Regions from separate parts of the Homo sapiens genome. Here all the other regions are linked to region 3. Evidence: promoter capture Hi-C in 16 types of primary human blood cells and fetal thymus (Javierre and others, 2016). All regions are on one chromosome and are shown on one strand. Each heading gives the region's core, a stretch centred on a gene start or on the middle of the fragment in contact. The rest is flanking DNA. Distances are from core to core; before and after follow the strand shown. Region 1 overlaps PLEKHA7 (pleckstrin homology domain containing A7). Region 2 overlaps PLEKHA7 (pleckstrin homology domain containing A7). Region 3 holds the start of PLEKHA7 (pleckstrin homology domain containing A7).

Evidence for each region. The method cuts DNA at HindIII sites, captures the fragments that hold promoters and counts their contacts. A CHiCAGO score of 5 or more calls a contact.
Region 1: a fragment that was not itself captured here is called in contact with the fragment with the promoter of PLEKHA7 in region 3 in 1 of 17 cell types (megakaryocytes); the score reaches 5.1 in megakaryocytes.
Region 2: a fragment that was not itself captured here is called in contact with the fragment with the promoter of PLEKHA7 in region 3 in 2 of 17 cell types (erythroblasts and megakaryocytes); the score reaches 5.9 in erythroblasts.

The regions. Positions count from the first base shown.
Region 1 is chr11:16,811,114-16,815,636 of GRCh38, reverse strand. PLEKHA7 (pleckstrin homology domain containing A7) reads left to right here. Exons shown (of 27, transcript NM_001329630.2): 13 at 2,471-2,524. Among named protein-coding and RNA genes, the nearest start is that of C11orf58, 75 kb to the right of the region's middle. RefSeq lists an enhancer at 79-579. The HindIII fragment of the contact is 2,622 bases long and covers 1,093-3,714 here.
Region 2 is chr11:16,777,130-16,781,812 of GRCh38, reverse strand. It overlaps PLEKHA7 (pleckstrin homology domain containing A7), which reads left to right. Exons shown (of 27, transcript NM_001329630.2): 27 at 2,793-4,516. The coding sequence ends at 2,815. Among named protein-coding and RNA genes, the nearest start is that of C11orf58, 41 kb to the right of the region's middle. RefSeq lists enhancers at 1-526, 527-1,221, 1,617-2,339, 2,340-3,063. The HindIII fragment of the contact is 9,770 bases long and covers 1-4,683 here.
Region 3 is chr11:17,013,072-17,017,863 of GRCh38, reverse strand. It overlaps PLEKHA7 (pleckstrin homology domain containing A7), which reads left to right and starts at 3,450. Exons shown (of 27, transcript NM_001329630.2): 1 at 3,450-3,548; 2 at 3,663-3,739; 3 at 3,818-3,875. The coding sequence starts at 3,463. RefSeq lists a silencer at 4,748-4,792. The HindIII fragment of the contact is 14,877 bases long and covers 1-4,792 here.

The sequences.
Region 1 (4,523 bases), core at 1,154-3,653, 200 kb after region 3:
GGCTGAGATACGAGAACTCAGGAGGTGGAGTTTGCAGTGAGCCGAGATCACGCTGCTGCACTCCAGCCTGGGTGACAAAGCAAGACTGTCTCAAAGCAGAAGAAAAAAAAAGCTTGAGTCTGGGTGAGGTTGCACTGTTGGTTGTTGCTTTCCTGAAAAAAACTTCCTGAAGCCCTTTTACTGCCAGTGCCTTTATTTGTCCTAATGACAGAATTGACACAGTAATTGCTTAACGGTGTCACATCAGTGCTGTCCTGGCACTGACACCGGGGTGAAGAGCGTAATTCTAGCAGTGTGCTCCTGCGGTGCTAACTTCCTTGTGCTGTGTCTACACATCTGCAGCTGGAGGAGCTCTCGTTGCTTCTCACCCGGTTAAGGCGGCACCAGGCCAAGTTGGCCAGTGTGCGAAATTTCGCCATCAGCCAGTTACTGCAGCACCAGCTGACCTTTCCCACCTGCCAGGTCAGCACTGGTGGGCTCCTCTCAGGGCCGGGGGCAGGGAGTGACATGCTGGCTCGCGTTCGCTCGTGCCCATGCTCTGGTCTGTCTGTGCTTTCTGGCTCTCGCGTGTTCGCTGCCTGTTTGCTTCTGGATGCTACTGCCAGACACTCTGTGGTGGTGGAAGCTGAGCCTACCCTTCTGGCACTGGGGAGGGGGGCTGCATGTGGTGTAGGGGCCCTAAACTGTCGCTTCTCTGGCTGTAAGTAGTGACTGCCAGGCTGGTGTATGGTCATGTTCAAAGGGCTGTGCTGGCTGACAGCCTTGTTGCCCCCGTGGCCACTGCTTGGGATGTGGAAAGGCACATATGCGTCAGCCTGGAGGGAGATGCAGGGCGCCCTCTCTTATCTGGATGGTGCCCTGCTGCCTCACAGAGTGTCTTCTCATCTCATATCTTGCTGAACCTCACAGTAAGCTGGAAGAGGTTAGGTAGGAGAGGAGTAAGGATCACACACAAGGCAAGTGGAACCAGAAGGGGAAGTGACTTGCTCAGGATCCCTCAGCTAGAAGCATGCAGGCTGCAGCCAAAATCCAAGGCCTGCATGACACAATGTTCTAAACTGTTGCAAGAACGTTGGGCTTTGCAGGCAAGCTTCTCAAGGACTGGCTAGGGGGCTGCCCTCCCGGGTATCTTGAGCAGAAGGATTAAAGAAAAGGATCCCTCCCTGGGGTTGTCCTCAGGCAAAAATAGGTTCAGCCAACGAGGCTGGTCCTCCAGGCTGTACAGAGGTAGGCAGGGGACAGATGAGGAAGGTGACAGGACTGTTACCTTCCTTCCTTGTTCTGTTTTAGTGAGTTTTGAGAGATTTAGGAAATGTATTCAGAAAAATGAATGTCAGTGAAAAACTATCATCAGTTGTGAATCTAAGTGATCTTGAATAACCTTCTTCTGTTCTGTCTTACTCCTATGGCAAGTGTGTAGGGACTGAGCTGTTTGGGAAGTATAGATGGGTAAGAAGTTAGTTTAGGGACACAAGACCTTGCAAGCCACTAGTGCCCCTGACAGTTGTCCTTCAGGCATTCCCATGCATAAGAGCCCTGCCTCAACTCTTCGTGTGGTTTGTCTGTGTGACTGTCTTACCTCAGAGCTGTAAGCAAAGGCCACCTGCCTCGGCCCTAGCTTGCTTGGCTGTGACCCTCTTAGTCTGCTGAGAAGATGGTGCCTGGATTATTTTTCTTTCACAGCTTTCACAGCTCCTCTGCCTCACAGTTAGCTTCTGTGATCTGCTACACGGGAAAGCATGAGTTTTGGGAAATCAAAGAGTCTTTTTCTTATTTTCACTGTTTCTGGTAATTATACTGAAGAACTTGATAGATTGTCAGAGATGCCACAAGCAGATAGGTCTGACCTTGCACCTGCCTCAGGTAGCTCCTGACATGGCTACATTGGCTCCATGGTGAGCAAAAAGAACCAAACTTGCAGGAAATTTCCAGCAGTTGCTGGTGGTTATCATTCTGGAAACCAAGGTCGTATTGGGACCTCCTGGGTCACCCAGGCCATCTCCCTGCCTCTTCAAGGCATCCACCCACACCAGTGAGCTTCATCTTCATGCATGTGAAGTGATCCAGACCAAAGGTTTGATGGATGGAATTGGAGTGATGATGACTGATGCGCTCTAGCTCAGGTGTGGCATATGCTCCTCCAGGTGGACCTCCCAGGTCTATCTTGGGAGCACAGCACTGCCTCAGCTACCCTAGCCCTGGGGTAGGATCCTCCCTGCCAAACTCTTCCCCTAGCCAGTGGGGGACAAGCTGACTTTCCCCACAGTGACCTGCAAGATCCGCCCTGCTGAAAGACGGCTCTCAGCTGCACCGAGACATTTGTGCTTCCTCTGTGGCCCCTGATGTGTTGGTCTGCTGTGGTTCCTTGTTCCCAAAGCTGCACGATGTAAATAATTCACATGTGAAACCTCGAGTTATGGAAACTCTTGGTGTTCATAACTGTGTTTTTTCCTCTCTGCTTCATTTGAAGGCTGATGATACCTACCTCCAGCTGAAGAAAGACCTGGAGTACCTGGATCTAAAGGTAAGTGACATCAGGGTTCCTGCCTTCCTTGCATACTCACCTTTCTGAGAGTGTCACCTCACTGGAGCCAAGCCCAAAGCCAAAGGCCAGACAGGTCTTATCCAATCTGAATTCTAAATCAATATGTCTCCCATCTTGAATCAGAAGAACTTTATTTCTTACAGACTAAAACTCTGCCTTTTTTCAGTTTCTTGTGAATTTTGTTGTGAGGTCCCTGGCTTACAGAATGAGGGCTTGAGACCTTGATCTCTTCCTTCTCTTGGTCAGAACAAAAAGGTCCCTCCAAAAGCAACCAGTCGCTTCTTCGGAGTCTCCAGTGGGGGCAGGGGTGTATGTTTGGTTCACTAATGTGGGTTTTCAGCCACAAGTGGTGTGGTGGGTTCTTTGGTTCTGTTGCTAGGGGAGCAGGCTCCACATGGAATCGCATGGCTTTGAGGCTCACCGGTAGTCTCCCATCTCGGTTTAGGAGGTGAAGGCTGGGCCCCTCCCTGTAGGTGATAAGGCTTCAGGCTCTAAATTAGCTTTCTCAGCACAGAGAGAGCCAAGAAAGCTCCTGTAGAGAAGGCAGGAGGCATTCTGCCTGGAAGAGAGGCCTATTGTTCCCTGCCCACAGTCCTCTGAAAGCTCCTACTGTGAAAAGCACTTCTTACGCCTGAGCCATGAAATAGACTGGAGGAATGTGACCTTTAGTCAGCTGTGGGTCTGAAAAGGTGGGTGAGGGGCCATGGGACACTCAGGTGACTGCCACGAGGGGTGGCGTGCCTCCCTACAGTCTCCAGTGTACCTGGCTTGGGATATTTTTAACTTGGGGATCTTCATCCAGCCTCATAGAAGCAGGTGTATGAACATCAGGTCCTAAGGAAGAAGATGGAAAGGGGGTCTCCCCACAATGAAAGGAGATCAGGGCTTTTGATTAGAAATCAACCAGTGCAATTCTGTGTCTGTTGAACACTTGCTGTGTTACCCAGATGACATGGGGAGATGCAGAAAAAAATTTGAGTCTGTCTGGTCTTGAGATACTTCCAGATAGTCTTGGGTTGGTGAAAGAAATTATCCCCAAATAACAGACTCCTCTACAATGACTAGACAAAGATCTGTTTGGCCTGGTTCTCAGAGCTGAGATGGTGAGAATCTCTGTGGGTTACAACACTGGAGAGGCTTCTGGGAGGAGGTGGCATGTGTTTGAAGCTTTGAAGAGCCAGGGGTGCTGGGGCTGGTTGAGATTTAAAGGGAAGGATCAGTGAGAGCCAAGGAGAGCCAGGGCACAGTGGTTGTGGCCAGGGCAGCAGAGGGGAGGTGGCACTAGGTCATGCAGGCTGTTGACTCTATCCTAGGCTTTAGGAAGGAAGGTGGATGCTATGAGCAAAAAGACCTGGCTTTAGCATGTGAGGAGAACAAGGAGCTTTCTCTCAAGGCCAGGACTGTCTAACTCACTTGACAGTCAGGTCACACAGAGCTTGAGTGACTGCTCTAAGTATGGTGGTAATTCCTCAGGATTCAAAATGCTCAAGCATAGCTGTATGGACCAAATGTGGCAGCCCAGCCCATCCTCCTGCAGCCTGTGGGGACAGACAGGGTTGTTCCCACCATGCCTATGGAGAGAGATCCAGCAGCCCCCAGCCTCCACCTGCCCTGCGCAGCACCATATCCCCGTTCCTCAGCCTCCCTGACAGCCAGTCAGCAGCTGCCTGCATAGTTCTTGTCACCCCTGACCCAGGGCCCAACAGTCCACTCAGACATACCTGTAGAGCATCCATAGTGCACCTGGGCCTATGGGAGAGGCCTGGCATGCCAGCAGCACAGGTGAGTATAAAACACAGGTATACCAGAGTGTTTAGTGCACGGGGCCAGAGGGAACTAAATGCACCTGAGCAAGAGCAGTGAGAAATAGCTGCCTTCTGGTTCCTGTTTGTATGTGACAGTGGAAACTCACAGTTGGTCCTGGAGTGATGCTTGGCCTCAGGTTTGTTTTATTTCAAGATCATAGAATTTGAGCTAT
Region 2 (4,683 bases), core at 829-3,328, 230 kb after region 3:
CCAAGGATGTGGCCGGCAGGGTCCTCAGATGCCTGGGCCTGGGGAGTCTTGTCTGGAGATCAGAGCTTTGCTGTGGCCCCAGAGGGCCATGAGAGTGACTGGCAACAAGGGGAGGGGCCATAGTCTTAGTCAAAACCTGTTCTCTGTCCCCCACAGCCTGATCCTGCACAGAGTCCTTGAAATCTTGGCTGTCCTCTGTCCCTTCGAGCACATGCTGAATGGGCTGAGAGGTGGCCGGTGTGGTGTTCTGGGATTAGGGATGCAGGAGATGGCTCATCCAGACCTCTCCTTCTCATGACCCAGGGGTTCATCTTAGCAGCTTTTGAGCTTCTCCTGGGGAGGGTTCGAGCAGGGGCGGCTCCCCCACCATACCATGCCCTCCTCTCGCCTTGCTTGCTCTAACCCTGAGGGGGTCTGCCATCCTCGGCCTCCTTATTGCCAGCAGATGAGCGCTCCCAGCCCTAACATGCTGCGGCCAGTTCCCAGGGCCTTTCTTCCTCCCTACTCAGGGATGATCTTTGCTGCGGCCTTTCCTCACTCTTGATGCCTCTCTCCATCTCAGAAACATATCCAGGAACTGCAGCCTGACCCATCCGGTTCCCCACCAGGCCCCGTGGATCTGTCCCTCACCCTCAAGCCCAGGCCCTTCGTGGTGGGCAGCAGGGCCCATGCCACCCCAGCCTGCCAAATGGGGCATCTGGTGCTGCAGGAGCTGATGAGGAGTCTAACACACCGCTTAATTCCTGTGTGCCCCATCTAGCACAGCAGCTGGCCCTCCTCCCGCCTAAAGGCCCCCTGTCTTCCAGGACGGTGCCACCTTACCCCCCTTTTACCAACGGACTCCACTACACCTTTGTCTAACACCTTCCAAGTAAGAGCCCCTGTCTGGTGTGCTTCTGCCTGCTTCCTGCACCTCCCTAGCGCTGAGCCCCTCACCTCCCTGCTGTGCTGAGGTGATTGCAGTGCCACCTGCTGATGCCTCCTTCCACTGGCAAAGCGGCCGCTGGCGGGACTGTTCTGACTGGTAGGCAGGTGGGAAAGTGATGCTTTTTAGGAACTCAATCCTCAGTGGCTCTAATACGATAGGGACTGAGCAATCCACCCTGCTGCCTCCATGAAATCTCTAGAACCGGAACTGTGCCCCCATCCCCTGCTCTCCTCAGTAGGGCACCCTGATGCCCGAGAACCAGTGCAGACCACACTGCCAGCCTTGGGGGGCTGGAAAGGAAGAGTTAGATCTTGGCCTTTCAGGGCTTTGGCCAAAGAAATTGAAGAACTGTAAGATTGGGAAAAGTCCAGTTCTACAGATGAGGAAACTGAGGCCCAGTGAGGGGCTGGGGCTCACTCCAGGTCACAAAGAATTGGTGTCAGCGCAGAGACTGGGACTGCCCTTTTGGTCACTGGGCACTTTAAGAGGGAGAGAAAGGGAAGCCCAGGGCAATGTGAAATTGGCCCTCAGCCAGGCAGAAAGCTCTGGCACCAACCCTACCAAGTTCTCCCCATGTGGGCATCTAGTGATGAGAGGCAGTGTGGGATGAGGAGGGAGCCCTGAAACAGGAGGCTGGCATCTGGTCCAGTCTCAAGTGAGTTCTTGGCCTGGGCCTGTTGCTTTTGAGCCCAGCGGTTCACCTGGACAGGGGAAGGTCAGACTACCAGTCTGGGCAGTCCTTACCCTGACATCCCATCCCACTATCATTTTGCAGGGCTTTCCCCTCTCCTTCCTTTACGTATACTTGTGGTTAACATTGTTGAGTGCCTGCTGTGTGCCAGGCATTGTGCTAAGTATCTCTTTCGATCCACACAACAACCCTATGAAGATATTCCCCCCCCCCTCCCCGTTTTAGAGATGAAAAAACAAAAGCTCAGAGGCCTTGAGGGATATGCGCAAGGAATCGCAGCTTGTTAAGTGCTGGGGTTTGAACCCCTTTGATGTGAGTTCAGAGCCTTTGTTCCCCATCACCACTCATGGGTTCATCTGGGCCGCCCCGAGCAGCTCTAGGTGTTTGGAGAAAGAAGTGAAAGGAGGGAGAGAGTATTTGTGCTGCAGGGAGCGAAGCATGATTTTTTGGCAGGTGTCTATCCTGGGTGCTCCCCGTGCCTCACAGCAGAGTCAGCAGGTCCCCGCCAGCCTGAGCATGAGAGGAAGAGGTCAGCCTCCTTGGGCCAGGCTCTGAGGAGGTGTGGAGTAGAGGCCCCGTGGTTGAGGAGCCATAGGGAAGTGCTCTAGCCACGCCCATTGTGAAGGCCACATTTGAGGGTGTGGCTTTCTCCTAGAGATCTGAGCACAGTAACAGCGCTCAGTCACAGAGAGGCAGGAGAGAGGTTCTGTTCCTCCTGGGTTTTGGTGCCCCCATGGCTGTAAGATTGGCCTATTATACTCTTTGGAGTACTGCATTTCTTCTTACTCTCAAAGCATCCTTGTTAAGAAGTGGGTATGACCACCATGTTTTTTAGGTTAGAAAAACAAGGCCCACAGAGGCCAAGAGCGCTACCCACATTGAAAGAATGAAGGGCAGGGCCAGACTGCACCTTTATTAGAGTCTTTGCCCTGTCGGGATGGGGACCCAATTTAGGGGCCAGCATGTGTCTAGCAGTGGAATAGGGGTGCAGGGAGGGTGGGGCAAGAGCCCCATGTGTCCTGGAAGCTGAGGGTCCCCCAGCAGCGGCCGCATTGCCAGAGCCCCCTGCTCTGCTGCTCTGCCTGTCCGCCTATCTGCCATTCCATCATGTGTGTGCAGACGTGCCTGCTCCCTGGATGCCAGCCTCTCACTGTCTCCTGTGCTTTTTGCCAGCCCAGGCAGTGACTGACCCGTGACCCAGCATGCAAAGAAGCCTGGAGCCAGGGGCCCAGTGGAACCAGCTTCCTCCAAGGAGATGACCTTTCTGCCCCCAAGGAAACCCCTTCCAGCTGAGCAGGGAATCCGGCCGGAGGAAGGAGCAGCTTACCGACTGCGGGTGTTCACCACAGGCCAGGCCCTAATATGCACCCACTAGTTTAGCTCAGACTCCTCTCTACATATGAATGGCAAAGGCACTTTTGATATACACTGTAAAATACACTGTATTTTAGAATCGGAATCTATTTTCTAATGTTCCCCTCAAGGGCTGAGTGGCAGGAAGGTTGAGGATGCAGGACTTTGCAGCTGCACGTACAGATTCAGGTACTTCTGGGTGACAGGTGTTGTGGGGGCAGGAAGGGCGGGGCAAGCCGAGGCTAGTCCAACTTCCAATGACCTCAGGAGAAAGTGAGATTTAAAGAGGTGTTCCCAGTAGACTCCAGCAAGAGGCTGGTTGGCGTGCTGTCTGGGAGAAGAGGGGCCCTTGGCTGCAGAGATCAGCTGTCCCTGACCTGATGACCAGCTCTGTGTGAAACTCCACGAGGATCACACGTGGAGCCCAAGTCTGTGCCTTGCCCCTTGGGTTTGGCTTAGGGGCAACAGTGTGTTCAAGAGGACTGGGGCCCACAACCTGCCCCCAGGCTTCCTCCAGCAAAAGGCTCTTGTCAGAAAGAAAAAAGCAGTTTGCTATCTTTTTTTTTTTTTGAGATGGAGTTTCACTCTTGTTGCCCAGGCTGGAGTGCAATGGCACGATCTCGGTTCACTGCAACCTCTGCCTCCTGGGTTCAAGTGATTCTCCTGCCTCAGCCTCCCAAGTAGCTAGGATTACAGGCATGTGCCACCACGCCCGGCTAATTTTGTATTTTTAGTAGAGACGGGGGTTTCTTCATGTTGGTGAGGTTGGTCTCGAACTCCTGACCTCAGGTGATTCATCCGCTTCAGCATCCCAAAGTGTTGGGATTACAGCCGTGAGCCACCACGCCCAGCCTGCTTTCATTTTTAACAGTACACATTGAAATACAGAAAAGGTGAGAGGAAGCAACTTTCATTGTATCGTAGCAATAAACTCCACACTGGGTGACATCTACCTAGAAATCCCTTCCCTCTAACCAGGCCATGATGGGAACCTTTGCTGCCTGCCCTTGGAGAACCCCGGATTGGCTTCCCTGGGACTCAGGTCTGGTGGCAGGAGGGCAGCAGTGTGCCCCCACCATCCCTCATGGCCTGCCGCCAGCAGGGCCATAATGGCAGGACTTTGATTTGACTTCCAGCCCCACATGAGGAGGGGGGCTACCAAGCCAGGTGCAGTGTTTGTGGCCCTTTATTTAAGTTGTTTTCTTATATTATTCTGCATATAAACAATGACGTTTAAATGGAAAAAACAACAACAACGAAAACCTCCATTGGGTGGAGCCACACTTTAAATGAAAATTTCTCTTTGACTATGCTCAGAAAAAAAAATAGAATTTTGAATATATCTAGCAGTTGTTGTCTATTTTTAACTAACTCCATATGCTGCCAGTATCGACTTCATGACATTTGCCAAAATAAAATTTTATTTTTGCCTTTATAAGATTTTCTTGGAAAAAATGAAATGAATATTTTGCAAGAAAAAGTTAATTTAAAAATGTAATGGTTTGCAAAAAAAATGTGATGTACAGATTAAAATATTAACCTGATACGTTTCCTGTTTCTTGCTGGCTATAGTCTCTGGTGAGTGGCCTGTGTACGTTTGTTTCCATTTCTTTGGAAAATCCCCACTGTCAGCTCTCGGCCCTGCTTCTATTTACCTATGAAAAGTTTCTTCTGGTGACGATTCCTTGACATTTGATTGACTGTAGAGGCC
Region 3 (4,792 bases), core at 2,201-4,700:
ACTCTTTTGTCACTATTTTTTATTTTAGTTTCTAACATATAATTTTGAAAATCAGTGATAGGCATTGAGTTTTATTGATTACATATTTTGGCATTTATTGAGATAATTTCAGTGTGTCTCTTATTGGACCTATTAATGAATTGTATTATTCTATGTATCTATATGTATATGTTTTAAATGATAAAAAGATCAAACAGTATGAAAGGGGAAACAAGGTAAAGTAAATCTCGTACCATTCCTATTAGAGTTTCCCTCCTCAGAGGCAATCACTTTACCTGATTCTTGACAGTGTAGGGACTATATCTGTATGTTAACAGTAGCATATCACATGCACAGTACTGTAGCCTGCCTTTTCACTTTATTTATTTATTTATTTAGAGATGATGTCTTGCTCTGTCACCCAGAATAGAGTGTAGTGGCCCAATCATAGCTCATTGAAGCCTCAACTTCCAGGGCTCAAGTGATCCTCCCACCTCAGCCTCCCAAGTAGCTGTAACTATAGGTATGCGCCCCATGCCTGGCTAATGTATCTTTTGTAGAGATGGAGTTTTGCCATGTTGCCCAGGCTGGTCTTGAATTCCTGGACTCAAGCCATCCTCATGTTTCAGCCTCCCAAAGTACTGGGATTATAGGTACAAGCCACTGCATCTGGCCCATTTAATATCTTACAGACCATTCTATATCAGTACGTAGGGATCTATTCTCATTCTTTTTTACAGCTTGCATAGCATTCTGTTTTTGTTGTTGTTGTTGTTGAGGAATGTGCCAGTTTAATCAACCAGGTCTTTTTTGATAGACATTAAGGTTATTTCCAGTTCTTTGTAATTACTGACAATGCTGCAGTGAATACTCTAGTACACTGGAATTTGTGCCCCATGTAAGCACTAATGTAGGATAAATTCCTGACATGAAATTGCTAGGTCAAGACATTGAGGTTGGAATAGCTGTGCCAAATTGCCTTCGAAGAGGCTCAAACATTTTAAAGTCCCATCAACAATGAACAAGAATGTCTTTCTCTACAATATCTTTTCTTTCTTTCTTTTATGAGACAGAGTTTCACTCTGTCACCCAGGCTGGAGTGCAGTGGCGTGATCTCTGCTCACTGAAACCTCCACCTCTAGGGTTCAAGTGATTCTCCTGCCTCAGCCTCCCAAGTAGCTGGGATTACAGGCATGCACCACCATGCCCAGTTAATTTTTGTGTTTTTAGTAGAGACAAGGTTTCACCATGTTGGCCAGGCTGGTCTCGAATTGCTGATCTCAAGCGATCCACCCGCCTCAGCCTCCCAAAGTGCTGGGATTACAGGCGTGAGCCACCACGCCTGGCCAATATCTTTTCTAATTTATCTTTTCCAATCTGACATCTAAAAAAATAGTATTTCACCGTAAGTTGCAGTTCTTCTATTATGAAGTGGCTCAGTATCTTTTCATTTGCTTAAAAGTTATCTGTATTACTTTTCTATTAACTGTGGGTTCATACCCTTTGCCCATTTAATGTATTATTTAAAATCAATGTTTAGCTAGCAAAACACCGCTTTCCTATTTTCATTTGCTCAACAACCTCCTCAGAGGCAGGAGGTTCCTTCAGACAGGTGTCCCCCGTCCTCTGCAACCAGTTACCTCTTCTAACTCATAAATGCCTCCTTCCCCAACACCACTGTCTGTTCCCAAGGAAGGGCCCCTTTATGGTCTCATCAACATCTCACAGCCCTCCCAAAATTATGTGCATGCTCTCCCATCCCTCCCCTCTGGAGTGCTCTTTTCCCAGTCAAACCTAACCAGTCCTTCAGGGTCCAGCCTAATTCCACCTGTTTGGGCACCTTTCTGAATAACTAGTGCTCACATTGCATACAGTCTCACTTTCAGGCGCGCCTCCTCCCATCAATCAGAGCCTATGTCCCGAGAAGGCTGGGCCTGACAACAGCTGGAGCCCAGCTGCTGCTCTGTCTTTGCTCAGTGTGTGTGTGTGTGTGTGTGTGTGTGTGTGGCCGGGAGTCTGAGTGTGGAGTATGTTTCATTCACTCATCCTGCAGTTTTTTTTTTTAGACTGAGTCTCGCTGTTGCACAGGTTGCAGGGCAGCGGCGCGATCTCGGCTCACTGCAACCTCTGCCTCCCTGGTTCAAGCGATTTTCCCGCCTCAGCCTCCTGAGTAGCTGGGATTACAGGCGCCCGCCACCACGCCCGGCTAGCTTTTGTATTTTTTTGGTAGAGACGGGGTTTCACCATGTTGGCCAGGCTGGAATAGAACTCCTGACCTCAAGTGATTCACCCGCCTCGGCCTCCAAGAGTGCTGGGATTACAGGCCTGAGCCACCGTGCCCCACCCCATCCTACAGTTATTGAATGCGTAATGCATACATGAGTCAGGTGCTGTTCCAGGCATTGGAGACCAGGCAGTGTATGAGGTAGATCAAAGCCCCTTCTCTCATCCAGCTGACATGTTGGAACTAATATACAACAAACAAGACAAACACAAATATCAATTAAATGTAAACAAGTAATGAAATAGCGAGGGAAGGAGGGGAAGGATTTTCTTTGCAGAGGGCTCAGGGAGGGCTCCCCGAGGAGATAAGATAGGAGTAAAGACCCGAATATGAGAGGGTGCCGCCACTGCAAAGAGCTTTGCAGGGCCCCCTAGAGGCCCCGCCTGGCCACCGCTCTTCCAGAGATGGACGTGCTGCCGAGCCCTCAAAACCCCTTTTTTCTGTTACTTGACAGAAACTGAAGGCAAGAGCTTGCGATCCCTGCAACCTCAGTGGTGTGTGGCGGTAACCCTGCTCCCTCCTGTTTCACATCCCAGCTGAAAACTTGGGAAAATGAAATCGCGCTCGGCCTGCCGTTGATAGAGCACCTACTACATGCCATGGTCCGGTTAAGCACTTTATGCGATTGTTACTTCATTTAATCTACACAACAATCCCGTGTGGACTCGATTAACCTTACAGGGGAAGAGAAGGAGGCTGGGAATATGGCAGGAACCTGAGTGTTAACTTGGTTCACACACAAGCGGAGTTCCCGGGTCGGGAAGTTCTGTGGTGCGGGTCGGCTGGGGTTTACTGAGCGTTCGGGCGCTCGCCGTTTTCGGAGTTGGTCGGGTCCAACCGCGCGCCCCGAAGCTGCCCAGGCGCGCCCGCCAGCGGCCCCCGCCAGCGGCCCCCCGCGCCGCCCGGGTCTCCCGGCCTCGGGGGCAAAGGGGAGCGCCGGTGCCAGCAGGCTGGGGGCGGGGAAGGCTCGGGGACAAAGGCCGCGGGCACTGCGCTGGGTTGGCCGGAGCGGCTGCGAACTCCGGGCGCCAGGACCCGGCCGGGCGGTCGCTCCCTCAGGAGCCCGCGCCTGGATGGAGCGCCTCGCGGCGCCGCCGGGCCACGCGCAGGCCGAGCCCCCGCCACCGCCCCCGCCTCCGCCCCTGCCCGCGCCCCCGCCCCCTCCCCCCCACCCCGCGGCGGCTCCGCGCTCGGCGAACATGGCGGCGGCGACGGTCGGGCGGGACACTTTACCTGAGCATTGGTCCTACGGGGTGTGCCGGGATGGCCGCGTCTTCTTCATCAAGTGCGGCGCGAGGACCCGGGGACGCGGGGACGCGGGTGGGGGCGCGGGGGCGGGGGCCGGGCGGGCACCCGGCGGGCTGTGGCGGCGCTAACAGGTGCACCTCTCTGCCCGCAGTGACCAGCTCCGCTGCACGACCTGGCTGCATCCGCGCACCGGGGAGCCCGTCAACTCGGGCCACATGATCCGCTCAGGTGGGCGCCGGGCCGGCGGGTGGGGGGCGCGCGCAGCGGCGGCCCAAGTTTGACCCGACTTTTCTGGCGTTTCCGCAGACCTGCCCCGCGGCTGGGAGGAGGGCTTCACGGAGGAGGGCGCCAGCTACTTCATCGAGTGAGTGAGTGGGGCCGCCGCGCTCGCACCTGTGCCGCGGGGGGGGGGTCCCTCCCCGTTCCCGCCGGGCGCCCCGCCCTTCCTCTGCTCCCGCCGGCCCGGGCTCGTTGGCGCGCGCTGCGCCGCGGCCACACTCAACGTTTTGTGTGCCCAAGTTGTTTGGCGGCCTCCGAGAGGAAGGCGGTGGGGGCCGCACCTACGCTGGGGACCTGGGCCGGGGGGGAAGAGGCCGCAGACTCTGCGCCCTGGACCTTGCAATCCGGCTGGATTCGGGTGCTGGTGTGCGGGCTGGGCACGCCTCCCCTCTAGGGTCTGGGGCTGCGCCCCGCCGGGAGAGGCGAGTGCCGGGACCTGGATGGGCTCGGGTGGGAGGAGTAGAACGAGAAGTTCTGTCCTGGTGTGGGCCTGCGGGGTTGGAGTGGGGAGAGGGAGAGACTAGGGGAATCTCGCTTAGGAGGACGCCCCCTCTCCCGCCGCAGGCTCTGGGATGGTCTTGGAGAGTCGGAACCTCGCCCCCGGCCTCCATCCACTGCGCGGGCCTGCGGGGAGGGAGGGGGTGGGGAAGGGAACTGGTCAACCAATGACTTTCCTCGAGCGCTCCGCGTCTCTTCGGCCGGAGCTGAACCGGGGGATTGCTGGTGCTTCCGTTAGTCCACGGGCGACTTTTCCGCAAAAGCCCCGGAGTGTTGGCGCACCAGCCAGGTTACCCTGGGTCTGTAGGATCAGTCCATGTCAGATTGGGGCGCAGTAAGTGAAGGCGCGGGTCAGGCTCCTATGCCAGTACAGGCTTTGCTTTCCCACTCCGGCGGGAGTCTGTGTTGCAGCGTGTTTCCCTCTGCCTGCTGAGCTCCGGGAGGCCAGACACTGCCTTTGACCCCTTGCCCCAGTGCCGGACAGCAAGTAGGCACTCGGTAAAT